Regions from separate parts of the Homo sapiens genome. Here region 2 is linked to region 1. The links are contacts of gene promoters, found by promoter capture Hi-C in blood cells and fetal thymus (Javierre and others, 2016). All regions are on one chromosome and are shown on one strand. Each heading gives the region's core, a stretch centred on a gene start or on the middle of the fragment in contact. The rest is flanking DNA. Distances are from core to core; before and after follow the strand shown.

What was found. The method cuts DNA at HindIII sites, captures the fragments that hold promoters and counts their contacts. A CHiCAGO score of 5 or more calls a contact.
Region 2: a contact is called between the fragment with the promoter of DNAJB8 here and the fragment with the promoter of LINC01565 in region 1, in 1 of 17 cell types (endothelial precursors). The highest score is 7.2, in endothelial precursors.

The regions. Positions count from the first base shown.
Region 1 is chr3:128,574,693-128,577,928 of GRCh38, reverse strand. It overlaps LINC01565 (long intergenic non-protein coding RNA 1565), which reads left to right and starts at 1,843. Exons shown (of 3, transcript NR_125802.1): 1 at 1,843-2,114; 2 at 2,543-2,663. The HindIII fragment of the contact is 3,021 bases long and covers 1,322-3,236 here.
Region 2 is chr3:128,465,270-128,468,519 of GRCh38, reverse strand. DNAJB8 (DnaJ heat shock protein family (Hsp40) member B8) reads left to right here and starts at 1,630. Exons shown (of 3, transcript NM_153330.6): 1 at 1,630-1,906; 2 at 3,084-3,244. The region is part of intron 2 of DNAJB8-AS1 (DNAJB8 antisense RNA 1); the gene reads right to left. The HindIII fragment of the contact is 7,883 bases long and covers 1-2,375 here.

The sequences.
Region 1 (3,236 bases), core at 594-3,093:
CAGGCCTGTCAAGGCTTTCCTCGCTCCAGGCCCTTGCGGTGTGCGGGGCTGATGTCTCCTGTCATCCAGGGAGGGCTGCGCAGCCTCCAGCCCGCCTCTAATCTCCCCCTCCACAAAGGGCAGCCCTGTCACTCAGGGAGGCAGTGGGGGAACCTGGATCCGGGGCCACACAATGAACCATCCACCCTGCCTGAGTAGGAGGAAGCAGCCTAGCAGAGGTGGCTGTTGGGGCAGAGGGCAGGTGGGCAGGGGCCTGGGCAGAGAGGGTGAGAGCTCAGCCATCTTAAGCCACCGAAGTCAGGGAATCAAGCTTATTTTGGTGGAGTACACAAGTGGCATAGGCCAGGTGCAGTGGCTCACATCTGTAATCCCAGCACTTTGGGGGGCTGAGGCAGGAGGATGGCTTGAGGCCAGAAGTTCAAGACTAGCCTGGGCAACATGGCGAGACCCTGTCTCTGCAAAAAATAAAAAAAAAAAGCTGGATGTGGTGGCGCCCACCTATAGTCCCAGCTACTCAGGAGGCTGAGGTGGGAGGGTCACTTGAGCCCAGGAGGTGGAAGCTGCAGTGAGCTATGATTGCACCTCTGCACTCCAGCCTGGGTGACAGAGCGAGACCCTGTCTCCAGCAAACAAATAAATAAAACAAGTGGCACAGAGCAAGCTGGCCAATCCTGGTAGTGCTGGCTAATGGTTAGTGCAGAGGGGGCAGTCTCGGTGGCTGACTTGGAGCCATCCTACAAAAATGAGGGAGGTACCTATAGAAATAGGGTCAGCTTCCCCATCCTCCACCAGACTCCAGAATTCTTCCTCAGCCTCCTGCATTAGTGGTGATGAAAAACCGATGCAGGGATGCAGGGGTGGAGTGAGCAAGCCGAGACCAGCCTGGTGCCCAGGGTCAGGAGCCTGCTCTTTTGAGCCTCAGTCCCCTGTGTGTCCACAGGAAGCACAGTGCCTGCTGCCTGGGGGGGCCTGAAGACACAGGATGGGTCCCCGTTGTGGAGGTGCCCGGGCAGCACCTGCATATAGCAGGTGCTCACTGTTGGTGTTGGCATGGTGGCACAGAGCAGAGGTGGAAAGCAATGTGCCGCCTGCAGACAGGCTTTTGTGACCTACCCCGTGTCTAGAAATGTATCTTCTGAGTTACTAACAAGGAAAAATGTGGCCACACAAGGTCCACCTTACTTCAAGGCATGGCAGGCTGGGTAGAGCAGTGCTGCCCTTGGAGATGGCACAGGGTCCCCCCTGCCTGCACCCCTGGGTTCTCCTCCACCTCCTGCCACTCCCCCTTTGTACACCAGCTGGTGACACTCAGTCACAAGCTTTCGTTGGCTCCTGAGACATTTGAGGTTGAGAGCTCTGGGACCTGGAGCAGACTCGGGTTTGCATCCCACCACTTCATTCGCGACCTGTGTAGTCAACCTTGCTGAGCCTCAGCGTCCTTATCTGTAAAATGGGACTCACGATCTTCACCAAATGAAAACAAGCATACATCACCTGCCCCTGAACCTGGAAGAGAGAGCGGATTCCCAACCAAAGAGAAGACACATTGCTGAGGCTGCCTCACCATGGCTCACTGCTGACAGCATGGTGTGCACTCCACAGGGCTCAGCTTTCCCCGTGGGTGGGCAGCGTGACCCGGGCAAGCAGGCAGGGCTGCCAGGGCCTTGGCCTCGGCCCAGCACGGAGCGGGCAGGGGCTGTGGCCAAGGGTCTCTGGAGGAGGCCACGTCTCTGCAGAGGAGACCCCTCCTGAAACACCCTCCAAGCTGGAAGCTGGCCCCTCAGAGGGGAAAACAGGTGCCGTGGGCGACTCTGAGCTCCCCACTGTAAATTAATCCACCCGAGCAATTGGGAACAGAAAGTGCTTCCTGTCCCGGCCTGAGACAATGGACAATAAACCCAGCCTGCTGGGCCCCGGCCCCTGACCCCAAGGCTTCAGGAAGAGGCTCCCACACGCACACACCTGCGGTGTGTGAAGCTCGCATTGTTCTGGGCTCATGGCCGAGTAGGGCCCCTTGCTCTCAGGAGCCTCCAGCTCTTTCTGGACCTGAGCCCTGGGAGCCTTCACTCTGCCCAGATGTGCTTCCTGTGGAAGGAGACCCCCAGATGACACAGGTGAGCAAGCGTCCTTGGGTTCGGGTTCATTTGATGCGTATTCTTGAAGCCCCTACCACGCACGGGGTCTGCACACCAGCAGCACAGTACAAAGCCTTTCCAGAAAGGCTGTGGTCTCACACCTAGCACCAGACAGCACACGGGCCTGCCCTTCTCCTCCTAGCACACAGACAGGGCCATATACATCCTGCTGGGGAAGGCCCGGTGGAGGCGGCTCCTTGGAGTGAAAGGCCCTGAAATGCCAGAGGCTCCTGGGATGTGAGGTTCCTTCTGGATTTCTGAGGCTGATAACTGAATACTCTCGACTCGAATAGATGATGAGCTTGTGGAACATCGTGTGCATGTGCACGCCACCACGAAGTTAGTAATCAATCTTGCTTGCTGGGGCCATGTGTGTGTCCACATTTTGTCTTTTAATTTTTTTTGAGATGGAGTCTTGCTCTGTCACCCAGGCTGGAATGCAGTGGCATGATCTTGGCTCACTGAAACCTCTGCCTCCCGGTTCAAGCAATTCTCCTGCCTCAGCCTCCTGAGTAGCTGGGATTACAGGTATGCGCCTCCATGCCCAGCTAATTTTTGTATTTTTAGTAGAGATGGGGTTTCACCATGTTGGCCAGGCGGGTCTTGAACTACTGACCTCACGATCTGCTCACCTCAGTCTCCTAAAGTGCTGGGATTACAGGCATGAGCCACTGCGCCTGGCCTCTTGTCTTTTAATTTTATTTTGAGTTGGGGTCTCACTCTGCCACTCCGATTGGAGTGCAGTGGTGCTATCATAGCTCACTGCAGCCTCAACCTCCTGGGCTAAAGCAATCCTCCCACCTCAGCCTCCTGAGTAGCTGGGACTACAGGCATGCACTGCCATTCCTGGTTAGGTTTTAAACATTTTTGTAGAGATGGGGTCTTGCTACGTTGCCTGGGCTGGTCTGAAACTCCTGGGCTCAAGTGATCCTCCCACCTCGGCGTCCCAAATTGCTGGGATTACAGGCATGAGCCCCACACCCACCTCAATGTCTTTTAAAGTCATTAAAAGACAATTATTTTGTCTTTTTTTTTTTGAGACAGAGTCTCTCTCTGTCGCCCAGGCTGGAGTGCAGTGGCACGATCTCGGCTCACTGCAAG
Region 2 (3,250 bases), core at 381-2,880, 110 kb after region 1:
ATAAGCAGATAGGATCGGGGGTGATTAGAATCCTTTTAAAAAGCCACTCCATTAATTACAGAGACAGAGAGGGGCCTCTGGCTGCTCCGAATACCAATTGGCTGCTTAATCGGCTCCATCAGCTCGCCCGGGGGAGACCTTCCTGGTACTGCTGTGTGACCTTCGGTGTGCCCTGCCCTCTCTGGGCCTCGCTTGGTCGCTGAAGGTCCTTCTCTCCCTGGCCATGGCTCGGGGTTGGCTTTAGGGTGGGCCTGAGATGAGGGACATGGGACATCTGAGGCCAGGAAGCCTAGGCTGGCTCCCCAGAGAGGGCAAATCCCCAAAAGCACCCACTGGTGAATGAGGACAGAGAGGCTTGAAGAGGGGAGGTGGCCTGACAGAATTGACGGTGGAGCGTGTGGGGCCTAAGTGTGCGCTCATGCCTGTGTGTCCCTGTCCCTCCAGCAGGCCCTATGGAGGCCTCAGAGCCCCTGATGCTCCCCACTGGCTCCCCAAAAACTGGCGTGGAAGGAGACTAGCCTGAACCCTTTGCAGAAGGGAAACTCCTCTGCACACTGCCCGGCTCCACGGTCCACAGCTCCCTTCATGGGGAGCTCCCCACAGGGGCCTCCATCTCAGGATGCCCTTGATGGTGAGGTGTGGGACCTGCTCCCAGGTGACACACCTGTTCCCGTAAGTCCTACCGAGTGGTCTGTTCTGTGTGCCCTAAGACAGCCCTGAATGGGCGGCAGTGAGGGGGTCTCCAGCCCTGTCTCCATCCTGGCTGACTCCCACAGACCCATCCCAGGAACAAGGGTTGGAGCAGGGCAGTGGCTGGAAGAAATTTCCCCTGGGAGTACAACGCAGACCAGAGCCAGGGTCTCCAACAAGGCAGGGAGGGCCAGGACGGGGAGGCGGCCACAGGATTCTTGGATGCCTCATCATACTAGGTCCTTTGTCTCTTAACATTGTTTTCACCACCCCTCCTCCACTGTCCTGATTCCATCGTCATGGAAACTTCAGGCTTCACCTTTACAATGTCAGGCCACCAACACCCTCAGCAGTGTCACCATCACCATCAACACCCCAGCGTCCCATCCCCATCTCCTCTACCACTGCCACCAGCCCCACTATCACTATCATCTCTGTCACCGTCACCACGGTGCTCTCCACCCGTGTCAGCATTGTGTCACCACCACATCACTGTCACCACACTTCCTCCACCTCCATCTCCACCCACCATCCCATCTGTGACATCACCTTATCAGCTCTGCCACCAGTATCAACCACTCACACCGCCTTTGCCATCACCACCGTCATTGCCCCCTCTACTACCACCACCATCACCACCACCGGGTCTGCCTCAGCCAGACCCACCACTGCCTCTAATTAGACTGCCACCATCATCACTGCCACCACCACTGCCCCTCCAATGCCTTCCTGATGTCACCATCTGCTTTCTCTCTGCTATCCTCACACCCAACTCCATCACAACCACCACCTTCATCTGAGCCGCCATCACCCTCACAGTACACAGCCCTCAAATGTGTACCAAGGAGGAGGACATTTACTACACGCTGCACCCTGAACAGTCTGGGACCAGCGGTCAGGGAACAAGGAATCGAGATGCTCACCTGCAGCTCCCAGGTGAGCGGCTCTCTAGAGCTTGCCTGGGAGCTGCTGAGGAGCTCACGGTATTCCAGGAAGCTCCCCATCCATGCCTCAGCCTGTGGCTCAGAAGCAGGGTCTTCGCAGAAGATTGCCCCGAGCTGTTGCAAAGCTCACCATTGTCACCTGCCTGCAACGGCCTCTCTTTTCCACTCTCCAAATCCCTTGTATTGGCAGGCTCTAGTCTGGAATTATACCGGTGATGGGATTCTGGAAAATCCCTCAGATTTCTCCAGGATGCAAGGAGACCATGGAAGAGGTTGGTGTAATGCCAAGTTAGCAACAGAAAATACAGAGCCCCACACCTCAGTGCCATCACCATCGCCATCGGCACTCACACCAGCATGTCCACCACTGTGTCCTTCTCACCCCTCGGCACCCCCCTCTACCATTGCCTCTTCCACAACCACCCTCACCACCATCCTCCATTAATAGCACAATTCCTGCCTCCTATCCCATCACCACCACGGGTGTCCCCGGCACCAGCAGCACCAACACTGCTCCCAGCAGAGCCATCGTTACCAGCCCCGCTGTCAGTCCCATCTTGAGCATCTGGCATATGTTGGAGAACTGCTCACTCCCTCTTCCCCATGGGAATCTCAGGCCTCTCTTCCTATTGCCCTGAGATTTGCAGAACCTTCCTGAAGGAAACATTCTTTGCCCCATGGATACTGGCCTTGACCATGGGATGCAGCAAGACTGCCACACATCATGGCCCAACAGAAGCTTTCAGAGGCAGCCCAAGTTCCTGCTGTCTCTGAGTGGCACTGTCATGAGAGAGGGGTGTGCAGGTCAGAGCTGATTCTCCAGCCTGGGACCCACAGTGAGAAGCTATGGGAGGTGGGGCCCTGGCAGCTGCCTGTAGGCACCAGTGAGTGAAGTGGGGGGAACTAGATGTTTGTCGTGAGCCACTGAGAGGTGGAAGCTGTCACTGTGGTATAGCCGAACAAGATACAACCTCTGCTACCTCCACCACCTTCACCTTCATCATCACCATTACTGTCACCACTGCCAACCACACCAATGGCTCACTAGGAGCCATTCCCATCACCTCCTCATCATACCTGCACCATCACTGCCAACCACAACAAAGGCTCGCTGTTACCATCTCCTCTGGCATGACCATCACCACCACCACTACCATCATCAATTACTCTCAAGCACAAGCCTTGCTGCTGTCACCACCAGCATCACCATCATCATGATCAACTCCACCATCACCCATAATTACTCTCCCCCTCACACCCACCATGACCATTACCTCCACATCAACACTGCTCCCATGGTCACCTCTACTATATAATGACACCTTATCCATCTCCATGGACACCCACCGTGCCTCTCCCCACCAGCAACACAGTCAACAGCAGTGCCTCTCCCACTGCCACCGCCATCATGGAGAACTGTGCAGGGCAAGCATCTTTCTCCCGCCCCAGGAACAAGCCTGCAAGGGACAGCAGGTGCTAACTGCTAACCGAGACATAGTGACAAAAATCCAGCCACAGAGATAAAGAATCAGGTTCATCTGTAGCTACATCCAGTGGAGAAGTTCTGCTCTTCAACTCCTCTGCTAAGCCACATGTGTCAGCAGGTGTAGGTGGGT